Regions from separate parts of the Homo sapiens genome. Here region 2 is linked to region 1. Evidence: promoter capture Hi-C in 16 types of primary human blood cells and fetal thymus (Javierre and others, 2016). All regions are on one chromosome and are shown on one strand. The core of a region is centred on a gene start or on the middle of the fragment in contact, and the rest is flanking DNA. Distances in the headings are between cores, read along the strand shown. Region 1 holds the start of HSD11B2 (hydroxysteroid 11-beta dehydrogenase 2). Region 2 overlaps LRRC36 (leucine rich repeat containing 36).

Region 1 (7,107 bases), core at 3,209-5,708:
CACAGCCCCGTATTAACACAGTTCTCAAGAGCCCAGACTTTGGGTTCAGGTACACCTGAGTTTGAATCTTGGGGCTGGTCCAAGACTCCAACGCAAGTGGAACTTGAGAGCTTGAGCAATTCCCTTCACCTCTGGAAGCCTCAGTTCCCTTGAATGTAAAATGGTGATAATGACAACTACTACAAAGGCTATGATGAGGTATCTGCACCCAACCCAGGGCTTGGGACACAGCAAGAGATTTGGAGGCCAGTGCATGGCATGAAGATTGAGGATGTGGTGGGGCACGATGGCTGCCAGGACCAGCTTTAGACATGCTGAGGCTGAGGGGCCTATGTGTGTCCAAGGGAAGTGTCCAGGGGCAGCTGGACATGTGGGCCTGTGGTCAAAAGGGAGAGCTTGGCCAGAAAGCAAGCAGGGAGGTCGCCAGCATGTGAGTAGAAAGATGAGCTCATGGTGTGGGGAGGGCCGAGGGTGAGGCCTCTACAGCCAGAGCTTCACCCACAAGGAAGAGAAGCTGGAGAAGGAGGCTGAGAAGGAGAGGCAGTGAGGTCGGAGGAAACCCGGCAGCCGTGGCTTCGCAGGCACCCAAGGGAGACAGGGCTTGGGGCAGGAAAGAGAGGTCAGCAGGGCCGAGGCTTTGAAGAGGCCAAATTAGCTGAAGCCAGAGATGAGTCTATGGGATTTGGGGACTAGGGGGTTACGATTGGGAGCTGGTCCCAGGCAAAGGCTGGGAGGGGAGAGTGGTGATGGTGATTATGGACAACTTTAGAGAAATGCAGCTGAAAACAGTAGGAGAAAACACAAGAGAGATGCTTTTTTTTTTTTTTTTTTTTTTTTTTTGAAACAGAGTCTTGCTCTGTCACGCAGGCTGGGGTGCGGTGAGTAGTACAATCTCGGCTCACTGCAATCTCCGCCTCCCACATTCAAGAGATTCTCCTGCCTCAGTCTCATGAGTAGCTGGGACTACAGGCATGCATCACCATACCTGGCTAATTTTTGGATTTTTAGTAGAGGCAGGGTTTCGCCATGTTGGCCAGGCTGGTCTCGAACTCCTGACCTTAGGTGATCCGCCTGCCTTGGCCTTCCAAAGTGCTGGGATTACAGGCGTGAGCCACCACGCCCAGCCACAAGAGAGATGCTTGTGGAAAGGGATACGGGCTTGAGGTTCCCAATGGGTGAGGCTAGCGCCAGTACACTTGCTGCTGGGGCCAGTAGTCAGTTGCTATATCTGTGGTGCCCAGCACAGGGCCTGGCATGCAGTAGGAACTCAATACAAGTTTGTTGTCTTTGAGGACAGGGAGCAATGGGGTCTAGGACCCTGGCCACTGGCAGGAAGAGGGACCCTCTGCCATTCTGCCAAGAGGAGGCATGGTGGGGGTGAAGGCGTGAAGCAGAGTGCAGGGCAGGGGCTCCTTGGGAATCTGCAGCCTCTTAGCTGCAGAGGGAAGAGGAGGTGACAAGTCAGTGCTGAGTGCTCTGCTCCAGGAACCCAAGTACAGTCAGAGGACAGAGCGAGAGGGCTCCTGGAGTCTGCCACTTGGTACCCCCTACTGTAGACATCTGTTCCCCTCTCCTCAACCCAGCAGCCGGTGGGTTACCTGGTCTTTAGCTCCTTCAGAGCCGTGCTCTCCCTACACGGCCAGCAGAGGGTACCAGTGAGCTGCTGGACTCCGCTGGAGGAGACCAGAGCCCGCCTGCCCACCCCTTTGTCCTCCAGAGCCTGGGGCGTGCTAAGGGTTTGGTTAACCAGGTTTCTGACCAAGGCGGGTTGGAGGCTGGGACAAAGGACTAAGGGAGGCTGTGGGCTGAGGGCTTAGGGGCCGAGTGGCTCAGGTGCTCTGCTCCTGGTCACCCTTCATTCCTCTGCCCTGCCAGGCCCTGCTTTATCTGTTGAGGCTCCTGCCCACTGCCCCTCTCCGCTTCTCTTCCCTGGAGGCCCCTGACAGCCTAGACTCCTGCTTCTAGCAGAGGCTGGTTTTCTGCCCCTAGGCAGGCACGACTTGGCAACAGGCCTCAGACAGGGCTGGGCCAGCTTCTGCCAGCAATGACTGCCCTAACCACCTTGTACTTCTAGAACGTCTCCACCTAATAAGGGATAAGGGGTCAGTGGTTGAGGAGGCCACAGGAGCTGGAGCATAGGTCCTGGGAAGGAGGAGGCTTGGACTAGGAAGTGGGATGAATGGGCAGGGGGAGTTTATATAAAAATGTGGCAGATGGTCCAGTCCCACCAAGACCCAAATCCCATAAGACTAATGGCTCTGCCTGAGGTGGCACGAGGTTCCAGAAGCTGAGCTGGAAACACCCCCTTCCTCATCCTAACCATGTTATACTCTTCAGCCAAACGCAAATCCCAACATCGCCTCCTGGCAAGTCTGTCCCCATGGTGGCCTTCACGGTTCCTTCCCAGGACAGTGTAGGACCCTGCTTCTGCCTCTTTCCTTATCTTGCCTTCCTGCCCCATCCCCCTACTCTTCAACTCCTGCTTTAGCAAGTGCTGGTTCTATCTGTGTTGCCTTGACCTTGAAGGCTCCCCAGGACCCTCATCTCAGCTTCTACTCCCTTCCTCACTCCAAGGGGAAGACTCCAATGGACTGAGGCTGGAGAAACCACAGCCAGACTCTTGGTGTGGTGGCTAAAGCTGGGGGGTCTGGCCAATCCAATCTCTACAGCTCAAATCAGGAAGTCAGGCCAGGGGTGCTGTGTCTGCCTCCAAGCCTGGGCCATACATTCACCGCAACAGGAATCAGTGACTTTGGAAAAGGAATGTTTCCCTGAGTTTCTAGAGGCAGGATGACCCAGACCGAAGGACAGAGAGTTACCAGAAACACACACAATGCACACAAATGTACTCACTTGCACACACAGGGTCATGGCATAGGGAGTGACACAACCAAATGGCCTGGACAAGCCACAGAGTCCCATGGACACAAGTGCTTACAAACACAGGCACACAAGGTCATGTACCCAAGGTCAGGCACACACACCCTCCTCATTCAAGTCCTGCCTCCCAGGTCTGGGGCTTGCCTGTCATCTGTCCTTAGGAGGAGGGATAGGTGGAGGCACAGGAGTGGCTCAGGGCAAATTGGTCCTCCACCCAGAGACTCTCCCTTTAGGTGGGTCTGGCTCCCAGCCTCCCCTGAGATTTCCCTGGCTCACCAGGGGGCTGTGTCTGGTGGCAGAGAGGGCTTTGGAGGAGGCATTGCCCTGAAACCCTGGCAGAGCCTGGGCACCTAAGAGAGAATGAGCAACAGGGCTAGGAAGTGTGACAGGGAGTCCACAACCTCCCAGGATCTTGGGAGGGCAGGGATGAGGCACTGAGCACGGCCTGGAAGCCCACGGGAAGCAGGGACCCCTCTGTCGAGGGCTACACCTACTGCTCTCAGCATCAAGCCTGCAGCCAGGTACTGGCACCAACTCCCAGTGCCTGGCAGAGCCCTGGCATGGATGCTAGGCACAGGGTGCCAGACACGGGGGTGGGCAGGGTGGGGGGCCACTGGGCCACACACAAGCATGGAGACCTTCACACACGCAGGCAGAAAAATCCACCCACACTCATACCACTTATTTTACCCCCTGGGGGTTCAGGGGAGCAAGGCAGGGACCACCCTGTCCTAGAGGCTGCCTTCACCGACGTCCCTCTGGCCTGGCTCTTGGGGTTGGCGGGGGTGGGCCATAAGTAATGGGAGACCTAGGTGCTTCCTCTGACACCCCACCCTCCACTGACCCCCACACACATACATTTGTGAGGCAGGAAGTGGGGTTGTGCGTCCCCAGGTTTAAGCCCTGGAAGGAAAGGGAAAGACGGGGCAGAGACTCCAAGAACCGGGAGCGGTCGTCCTGTTCCCCCGCCAGCCCCTGTCCCAGGCAGGTTTTGTGGCCGCGAGCTGCTCAGGGGTGAGCGCGCCTTAGGGTGTGTGCGCCAGGGACCTGGCGCAGCCGACCACGTGGGAGTGCGGCGCGTGTACGGGCGCGGGCGGCAGCGGCAGCGGCAGCGGAGACCGGGTGAGCACCGGCTGGTTCCTCGCGGTGTTCCTGCAGGCTTGGCGGCCGCGGTGGTGCGATCAGCAAAGGGCACCGGGATGCCGGTTGTGCGTGTCCTCAGGTGTCCCGAACAAGCGTGAGTGGCATGTGCTCACCTGAGCGCGGCGGCTTGGCGGCCCCGGGCGTGTGGGTGGGGGCGCGGCGGAGAGCTGAGGCCGGGCACCCGGGCTGGACCGACGGGCCCTCTCCCAAGCACCGCCCGCAGCCAGGCGGCTCCTCGAGCGCAGCAACTTTGGGACTTTGTTCCGGCTTTTTCCAAATCGAATCTGGTCGAGGGGGCGGGGCGGGGGGGGAGCACCTGCCCTGCGGGGGGTGCCGGGAGAGAAGTGAAGGAAAGCCCCGCCCCCGCCCCTCCCGCTCCCCGCCCTCTCCCCCGCCCCCGGGGCTCTTCATAAGCTCGGCCCGAGGGCGAGCAGAGAAAGCGAGTGTCCCTCTCGCGCCCCAGGCCGGTGTACCCCCGCACTCCGCGCCCCGGCCTAGAAGCTCTCTCTCCCCGCTCCCCGGCCCGGCCCCCGCCCCGCCCCGCCCCAGCCCGCTGGGCCGCCATGGAGCGCTGGCCTTGGCCGTCGGGCGGCGCCTGGCTGCTCGTGGCTGCCCGCGCGCTGCTGCAGCTGCTGCGCTCAGACCTGCGTCTGGGCCGCCCGCTGCTGGCGGCGCTGGCGCTGCTGGCCGCGCTCGACTGGCTGTGCCAGCGCCTGCTGCCCCCGCCGGCCGCACTCGCCGTGCTGGCCGCCGCCGGCTGGATCGCGTTGTCCCGCCTGGCGCGCCCGCAGCGCCTGCCGGTGGCCACTCGCGCGGTGCTCATCACCGGTGAGTGCGCGGGTCGCGGAGCGCGGGGACTCCAGGCTCGAGGGCGGGACTGGACACTCAACAGGACTGACTCCCCATGGGCACAGCCAAGGCGGGCTCCTCAGCGCAAGAGTGGGAGAGTTCTCCACCCCTGGGTGCAGGGAGCGAGCCAAATAGGGAGCGCCGGGCACCTCCCCAAGCCCGGGTTCACTACCTGCCGCTGCGGGGAGTGTTGGAGGGAAAGTGAGACAGGGAGTGGGCCGGTTCGAGAAGGAAACTGACTGGTGGCTGAGAAGAGGGAACCTCCTGGAGTTTGAGAGTTTATGCCATTCCCTTCCCCAAGAGAGCAGTCTCAGGGGACTTCGGAGGCCTTGAGAAGGGAGGATCGTTACCCCTTGAACTCTGCCTGACATCCCCACCTAAGATACCCATCTCCCATTCCTCGGGCCAGAGGGAAGAGCTTAGATGGGGAACTTCCCCACCCCACCCATCCCCCACTGGCTGGGATCCTTGGAGTTCAGAAAAGCTAGAGGTCACCGTGAGGGGCAGCTGGACATTCAGCTGTCTTTCTGTCTAGCCACCCACTGCCAAACTGCTGAGGCAGTAGTTTGGAGCCTACACCCAGCACCCCACCCCCAAGCCCTCCTGGTCCTCTGTGCCCAGGAAGGAGCTCTTAGAGAGCTGGGCTCAGGTGCCTCTGGCCGCCTAGCTGAGCTCCTTTGTCTGGAGCAGGGAATAAATCTGTCACCAGAGGGAGGGAAGGGGAAGGGGGGGGGGGGCTGGAGGCCCGCCGGAAGTGGGGAGGGGGAGAAAGGCCAGGGGGCACTGACTCCATTGCATCGTGGGAGGAGCAGCCTGGTCTCTCGCCAATACCCACGGCTTTGGACAGGTGCTCCAGGCTTTGTCCTTGCGCTGGGCCTTTGCTGGGGCAGCCAGCAACCTGGCTTCTCAGAGACCTCGGTCTAGTAGGGGCCCTGTGTGATCAGATGGGGCTGGGAGAATTTTCCGGAGGAGGAAATCCTTGAGTGGGGCCTTGGAGCATGAGTGGAGATAAGTGGAGTATGAAAGGGATCTCGGATCAGAGAAAGGATGTGGGACAAAGGCTTAAGGCAGGAGTACACACGGTCTCTGTAGGGGACAGCCAGTCTGGGTGTGGGGGTGGGGAGAAGGGGATATGAGGTGGTTTCCTTGGGAGGGGCCATGAATCAGGTAAGAAGCCAGACTGCTGAGGCAGAGTAGGGGGGAAGGAGGCACAAGGGCCTTGCACTCCAGCAAAGATGGTAGAGATGGGGAAGCATTCGGGCTGGACAGGAGAGACCCAGGTTCCAGGCGCAGTGTGAAGCCTCAGCAGACCCCAGTTTCAGAGGTTTGAGGAAGGAAAATCAACAGACACCCCGGGTATGAAGTAGGGGCCAGGTTGTGGGCTCTGCCTCTGGGGACAGGGCAGATCCCTTCCTGCTTTATTTGTGAGCCACCTCAACAGGACCCAGGCCATCTGCAGGTACTAGTGGCCTAGCTGGGTAGTCTTTCCTGAGGTCTCACCTCAGGCCTTTGTGCTGCTGCTGTTGCTTCTGGCCTTGAGCCTGAGAGAGAGGTGAGAGGAAGGATGCTTTCTCTAACTTGGGCTCCTCCAATCTCTGGTTGCAAAGCTGGGGTTGGGGGAGAGAGGACCACCCAACCTGCCCTGTACAAGCATCAGTAAGACTCCAAGTTTCCCAGGGCCCGAACACTTGGGGGTTGTCTCTCAACACCCGGCTGGAAGACAAGTAGGTAACCAGGTTCAGCCCCACCTGCCAAGAACACTGTGTTTTGGGCCTGGCAGAGCTGCTACTCCCCCTCTCCCTCCTAAGAATGCCCAGAGAATCACTTGCCAAGGCTACTCCTGGAGCTCAGCTGTGGGATCAGGGTTTGGGCTGAGGATCAGGTGCCTGTGTGCACACATGTGCACATGTGTGTGCCAATGGGTGGTAGGGATTGAGCCCGTTGTGAGAACATCCAGCCAGGTTGGAAGTGTGTACAGGTATCTGAGGGTGTGCACGTGAGCAAGAGGGTGTGCAAGATGTGGGTGACTGTTGGGACCACAGAGCTGAGGCCTGTGGTCAGCTCAGGTCAGAACTGGGAGGTCTGTTTCCCTTGGGAGGACCTGTCTGCTCTGAGGGGGACCCGGACAAGTGCACATATGCATGTGTGTGTCTACACACACACACACACACACACACACACACACACACACACATATGCTTGCCTCCCTCTCCAAGGCAGACTTGCCTGGGAAGT
Region 2 (7,107 bases), core at 1,746-4,245, 63 kb before region 1:
CCTATTAAAACCCCCTTAGCTATGGTGGTTGATAGCTTTATCAGCTGGTAAAATAAGCATGAGAGTCCTTTAAACAGAAAAAGCAAAGCTGGAAAGTGGCCCTCATCTACCTTCTATGAGCTATCTAAGGCAGAGAAAGTACAGTCATTGTTTGCTATGTCCTTTACTTCCTAAGGATATTCAAGCAACTCTGGAATCTCCTTGTATTGTGACTGTTTTAAAATAGACTTAAACTGGACCTTTGCTTAAAGGTCTGTTTCCCTAGCTTGCAAGGATAGTCTTTCCCATTAATAGGAAGGTATTCTGAACCCCTAGTCTAATAAGCTCACATTTGAACGCGCATGGACTTCCTTCTACCTAAACTTTCGAACTTTTTTTAGACACAGGAAGTAGCAAGAAGGGAGATGCCAAGTGACAATCACCAGGAAGATGGTAAATATTTTGCTCACTGAGTATTTTTCCCCCACACTAATCAGAGAAGTCTGGATGTGATGGGATTTGGGAGATGAAGATGTCTCAATATGGGGGCCCTATTTAGTCAACTAATTTCTGCTTTTGTGAGGGACTGTCCTGGATGATTAGTAACCTGTGAGACTTTTCTGCTTAAAGAGTGCATATTCTGACCTCCTTTGTTCTTGATTTTTTTTGCGTTGGATGACTATTCTTTTTGTTACCTTTCTTGCCTTCTTTTGTATTTATTATTTTTTATTCATCCATTTGTTTCTCTCTACTGGTTTATAAGTTATATACATTTTCTATACTTTTAGTATTATTCCCCAAATGATAATATGTATCCTTAACTTACATAATTTTTAAATTGTTAATACCTTAAGTCTTCTTTTGGATAATTCAAAAACCGTACAGTACTTTATTTCATTTACTCTTTCCTGACTTATATGTTGTTATTATGAATTTTAATTCTCTATATTTTTAAAGACTTCACAAGATATTATTTTTTATATAGTCAGTGTAGATTTAAATCTATCCATTAATTTACTACTGTTTGTTCACTTCCTTTTTCTTCCCAGGCTTCCCTTCTGATATCATTTTCCTTTGCCTTACAGTGGCACATACTTTAATGTAGGTCTATTAGTGATGAGCTCTTTCAGCTTTTCTTTGTGTGATAATGCCTCTATTTCACTATCATTCTTGAAGGGTATTTTAGATGGGTGTAGATTTCTAGGCAGTTCGTTCTCTCTCTCTCTTCCCACTTCCTTCTCTCTTTTTTTTTAATTTTTTTTATTTTTGAGACAAGTTCTCAATCTGTTGCCCAGGCTGGAGTACAGTACAGTGGCACAATCAGAGCTCATAATAACCTCAAACTTCTGGGCTCAAGCAATCCTCCCACCTCAGCCTCCCAAGTAGTTAGGACTACCACCACACCTGGCTAATTAAAAAAATTTTTTTCGGACCAGGCACAGTGGCTCATGCCTGTAATCCCAGCATTTTGGGAGTCCGAGGCAGGTGGATCACCTGAGGTCAGGAGTTTGAGACCAGCATGGCCAACATGGTGAAACTCCATCTCTACAAAAAATACAAAAATTAGCCGGGCATGGTGGTGCTTGCCTATAATCTCAGCACTTTGGGAGGCCGAGGCGGGTGGATCACTTGAGGTCAGGAGTTGGAGACCAGCCTGGCCAACACGGTGAAACCCCATCTCTACTAAAAATACAAAAGCTAGCTGGGCATGGTGGCATGTGCCTGTAATCCCAGTTATTCGGGAGGCTGAGGTACGAGAATCGCTTCCCTCTGGGAAGCGAAGGTTGCACTGAGCTGAGATTGCGCCACTGCACTCCAGCCTGGGCGACAGAGTGAGACCCTGTCTCAAAAAAAAAAAAGAAACAGAATTTGTCTCCAGAATGTTATAGATTCTTTACTGTTTACACAAAAGTCCCACATTTTATTGGTGGTGGTGGTGTTCCATGTGGAAGTCCTTTCATCACTTTATGCTACCATTGATCAGAATTATAAACCACCTCTTCCTGAGAGGTGTTTCTGGCAGACAGAGAATATGTTCAGTGAACAGAGGTACTCCCAGCTAGGCCACAAAGAATTCTTATCATGTTTTGTTTTTTTGCCTTGGTGGTGTTTAGAGTTCAGACACTACTCGCCTCGTCAGTCCACAGTCCGATCCCCAGAGAAGATGACTAGAGAAGGGTACCAAGTATCTTTTTTGGACAATAAGTCTTCAGGTTCTTCTCCAGAAAAGGAATTGATACCAAAACCTGATACTTTTCATCTTACCCATGATGCCTCATTGAGTAAATGCCTGGATGTGGGTGATTCTAGCCAGATCCATCCCTATCAGTTACCTTCAGATGTTGGTCTGGAAAATTATGACAGTTGTTATTCTCAAACTCTATCCCTGCATGGAAGTCTTGGTAAAAGGCCTCAGAGAAGCAAGAACTATCAAGAGTATAGCATAAAGCCTTCAAATGACATAAAGACCACCGCTTCACATTCCTGTGGAGACTTATTAACTTCTCTGTCAAACCCTGACTCCAGCACTGGAAGGCTTTTGAAGCTTAGTTCAGGTAACAGCTTCCTGTCAGTTTACAGGTCTTCTTCATAGGCATGAAGATAGAAGATATAAGTGAAAATTTTGGAATTAACCCTTCTGAAATTGTATTAGCATTTCTTAAGTTGTATTTTAGGGTCACCAGTGGTTCTTGGAACCTCGAGAAATCTGTAGGGTATGAGTTTAACATGATATATATATTAGGGAAAATTTGTAGGAAAGTGAGCATTGCAGCTACTTGCTATTTTAGTTAAGCAGCATCCCAGGACATCTAGTCTTTACTCACAGTCACTTCTATTCTGACTTACTTTCAGAAGAAGTTAGTTTCAGGCTGGGCACGGTGGCTCATGCCTGTAATCCCAGCACTTTGGGAGGCTGAGCCGGGTGGATCACGAGGTCAGGAGTTCGACACCAGCCTGGCCAACATGGTGAAACCCCGTCTCTACCAAAAATACACACACACAAAATAGCTGAGCATGGTGGCATGCGCCTGTAATCCCAGCTACTCAGGAGGCTGAGAGGCAGGAGAATTGCTTGAACCTGGGAGGCAGAGGTTGCAGTAAGCCAAGATCGGGCCACTGCACTCCATGGGCAACAGAGCAAGACTCCATCTTGAAAACAAAAACAGAAGTTAGTTTCAGAGTTAGTGACAGAGATCACTCTTCTGTTACTTATTTATTCAACCAAACTCATTGAACACCTACAGTGTCCCAGACACTGTTCTAGCTCTGGAGATAAAGTAGCAACCAAAATAAAGTTCCATGTATATTTTACCATAATAAGAAGACAGTCCCTACTTTCATAGAGCTTACATTCTCATGGGGTAAGACACATGATAAACATTTTAGCATGCAAATATATGTCAGGTTATGGTAAATGCTGTGAAAAAATTATATAAGGGCATAGAGCGTGATAAGGAGGAGGCGATGCTTTAGATAGAATGGTCCAGAAAGCTTCTCTGATGAGGCACCATAAAAGTAGAGACTTGAATGAAGTGGGAGTATAAGCCATGTGGGTCTGGGAGGAGAACTTTCTAGACAGTGGGAATAAATGCAAAAGTCCTGAGGCTGGAACATACTTTTCATGTACAAGGAACCTCAGGGAGGCCAGTGCGGCCTCAGCAAAGAAAGTAGAGTGTATAGATGAAGTAAGAAAGATGCCAGACTTTTTTCTGGGTGAGATCAGAAGGAGTTGGAGAGTTTGTAGCAAGGGAGTGATGTGATCTCACTTAAGAATTACTGTGAATGTTGGGCTGAGAATAGACTATGGGGAGGAGGGTAGAAATTTTTTTAAAATGCTTTGGAGAGATTGGAATCAGCGTAACAGATGATGATGGCTTGGGCTAGACAGATAGCGGTGGAGGTGGTGAGAAGTAGTCAGATTCTGAATATGTTCTGAAGATGACACTCCATGGTTTGCTGATGGATCCAGGATAAAGTGTGGGAGAAAGAGGGTCAATGGTAATTCTGTGGTTTTGAGTCTGAATAACTAGAAGAACAGAGCTTTCATTTACTAAGATGGAAAAGAATGGGAGGTAGAGATTTTAAGATAAATATCAAGAGTTGGGTTTTGGACATCTTAAGTTTCAGGTGCCTTATTAAAACTTTCCAGAGATGCCAATTTGGTAATTGGACATACTAGTCCAGAGTTTAGGGAAGAAGGTATGGCTGGAAATATAAATTTGGAGATTATAAGTGTATGGGTGACAGTAAAACTCTGAGACTGGATGAAATCTCACCAAAAGAGTGAATATAGATAGAAAAGAGATCTGAGGACTGGTCCTGAGCCCTCCAACAATTAGAAGTAGATAAAGAGAAACCATCATGGAGAGTGAGAAAGCAGCAGCCAGTAAGATAGAGGGGAAAAAGCCAAGAGGAAGTAATATCCTGGAAGCCAAGTGAAGAATGTGTTTCAAGAAGGAGGGAGTGATCAATGCTAGGTCAAATGCTTCTCCTGATAGGGAGGGAGGGAGCCTGGGACTGAGAAGTGATTATGGTATTTGGCAATGAAGAAGACATTAATGAACAGCTTCAGGGGATGCATGAGAATGAAAGCCTCACTGAGGTGAATTCAAGAAAAAAATTGGAAGCAAGGCAGTAAAGTTACTGAATATAGACAACCCTTGTATTAGTCTGTTCTCACACTGCTAATAAAGACATACCCAAGACAGGGTAATTTATAAAGGAAAGAGGTTTAATTGACTCACAGTTCCACATGGCTGGGGAGGCCTCACAATCATGGTGGAAGGTGAATGAGGAGCAAAGTCACGTCTTACATGGTGGCAGGCAAGAGAGCTTGTGTAGGGGAACTCCCCTTTATAAAACCATCAGATCTCGTGAGACTTACTATCACCAAGAACAGCATGGGAAAGACCCGCCCCCATAATTCAGTTACTTCCCACCAGGTCCCTCCCATGTCATGTGGGAATTATGGGAGCTACAATTCAAGATGAGATTTGGGTGGGGACACAGCCAACCCATATCAACCCCTTCAAGGAGTTTTGCAGTAAAGGGAAGCAGAGAAATGGAACTAGCTGGAGAAGGGATGGGGTCAAGGAGATCCTGGTAGAAGTGATCTAGTAGAGGGAAAACTGATGATGCCAGGGAGAAAAGGGACCGTTACAAGAAAATGGAATCCAGTCCACCAGTGGAGAGGCTGGTTTTAAATAAAAGCACAGATAGTTCATCTATTGTAATAAGAAGGAAGGCAGAGAATTTATTAATACAGATACAGGAGAGTTGGTAGATTTGATGGTGTGATCATGTAGATGTTTTCTTTGATTGCCTCTCAGGGAAATAAAGGAGGTTGGCACCTGGGTGTAAGGAGGGAAGAGAAGGTGTTGGAAGTTTGAAGAGAGATGTGAAATATTTGTCTCAGAGAATAGAAGAGTAAATTGGCCAGAGTATTATATTAGGAGATGCCGGGCACAGTGGCTCACACCTGTAATCCCAGCACTTTGGGAGGCCAAGGCCAGCAGATCACTTGTGGCCAGGAGTTCAAGACCAGCATGGCCAATATGGTGAAACCCCATCTCTACTAAAAATACAAAAATTAGCTGGGCATGGTGGGTAGACCCAGCTACTCGGGAGGCTGGGGCAGGAGAATATCTTGAACTCAGGAGGCAGAGGTTGCAGTGAGCCGAGATTGTGCCACTGCACTCCACCCTGGGCAATCGAGCGAGACTCTCTCAAAAAAAAAAAAAAAAAAAAAATCAGAAGAACTGGGCACCACTAAGGGCGCAGTTACAATAGTGGTCATGAGTTTAAAGTGAGAAAGGTCAGAACAGATGCGTTTTTTTCTCCAGCTATGTTCCCCTGCTCTGGTGTAGGCTTGGAACATGTGGACGGTTAGATTTAACCAGAGTTGGAGTTTTGTCAGAGAGTTGAGGATGTATGCTAGGGAGTGGTTATTATGACCCTTGGACTACAGGCAAGGTATGGATAGAAGTGAGACATGAGGCAGTCAGAGGGCAGGTTCATCTGTTAGCCTGTTTCCTCCACAGATCTGTATGCCACAACCCATTTCAACAGTGACCCTGCTGTACTTGTCAATGTAGAGCAACAATTATCTACCAGCCTGGATGATTTAACACCAGCACATGGTTCTGTCCCAAACAACGCTGTCCTGGGAAACAGGACAACTCCTCTGCGGACACTGCTGTTGTCTCCTGGGACTTCAGAACACAGAAAGATTTTTACCAAGAGGTCACTAAGCCCATCGAAGAGAGGATTCAAATGGAAGGACAATATCCTTGCCAACCTGAATCTAAAGCATGGTTTCCAAGATGCTACAGGCAGCGAGGCAAGTGTTGGCTTGTTTGTGTTTGTGCGAGAAACAGGTCAGGTTCGAGACCAGAATGAGGGTTCTGTTGGGAATGGAGGTGGTTCTGACCAACAGGGCTAGAAATTCAAAGAGATTTTCAGAGGCTGGTGGCTAATACTGCCAAGCTAACACCTGTTGAGCCTTCTGCCCTTGGGAAAGTCATTCCCCCACTGCTGCCATTTTCTCACCTATATCACAGGGAGAACTGTCCCTGATCTACTTCCGGCTGAAGATTGAACTCTGTAGCATCTATGTTTACAGTCTCATCATATTTACACATTTGCTTCGGCCACACATGAAATAGTTCTTATAAAAGCATTGCTTCAGGCTGGGCACAGTGGCGCATGCCTGTAATCCCAGCACTTTGGGAGGCTGAGTGGGTGGATCACCTCAGGTCAGGAGTTCAAGACCAGCCAGGCCAACATGGCGAAACCCCATCTCTACTGAAAATACAAAAATTAGCTGGGTGTGGTGGCGCACGCCTGTAGTGCCAGCTACTCTACTCGGGAGGCTGAGGCAGGAGACTCACTTGAACCCAGGAGGTGGAGGTTGCAGTGAGCCGAGATCACGCCACTGCACTCCAGCCTGGGTGACAGAGTGACTCAGTTTCGTAAAAAATAATAGTAATAAAAGCATTGCTTTGCTTTTCTGTCTAGAAGTTAAAAGGATTTAAAATTTTTTTCCAATGTAGAAGCAAACAGAAGATGAATTAGATTATCCAAGGGATTTTTAGTTCAGAGAATGATTTAAAAATCAAGAACCATTCC

What was found. Contacts are between HindIII fragments. The CHiCAGO score rates a contact against its expected background, and 5 or more counts as called.
Region 2: a contact is called between a fragment that was not itself captured here and the fragment with the promoter of HSD11B2 in region 1, in 1 of 17 cell types (M1 macrophages). The highest score is 5.2, in M1 macrophages.

The regions. Positions count from the first base shown.
Region 1 is chr16:67,426,663-67,433,769 of GRCh38, forward strand. It overlaps HSD11B2 (hydroxysteroid 11-beta dehydrogenase 2), which reads left to right and starts at 4,459. Exons shown (of 5, transcript NM_000196.4): 1 at 4,459-4,851. The coding sequence starts at 4,587. RefSeq lists enhancers at 1,353-1,887, 1,888-2,422 and silencers at 4,128-4,177, 4,398-4,577. The HindIII fragment of the contact is 16,145 bases long and covers 1-7,107 here.
Region 2 is chr16:67,364,924-67,372,030 of GRCh38, forward strand. LRRC36 (leucine rich repeat containing 36) reads left to right here. Exons shown (of 14, transcript NM_018296.6): 7 at 381-432; 8 at 2,094-2,534; 9 at 6,021-6,319. Among named protein-coding and RNA genes, the nearest start is that of TPPP3, 25 kb to the right of the region's middle. The HindIII fragment of the contact is 947 bases long and covers 2,523-3,469 here.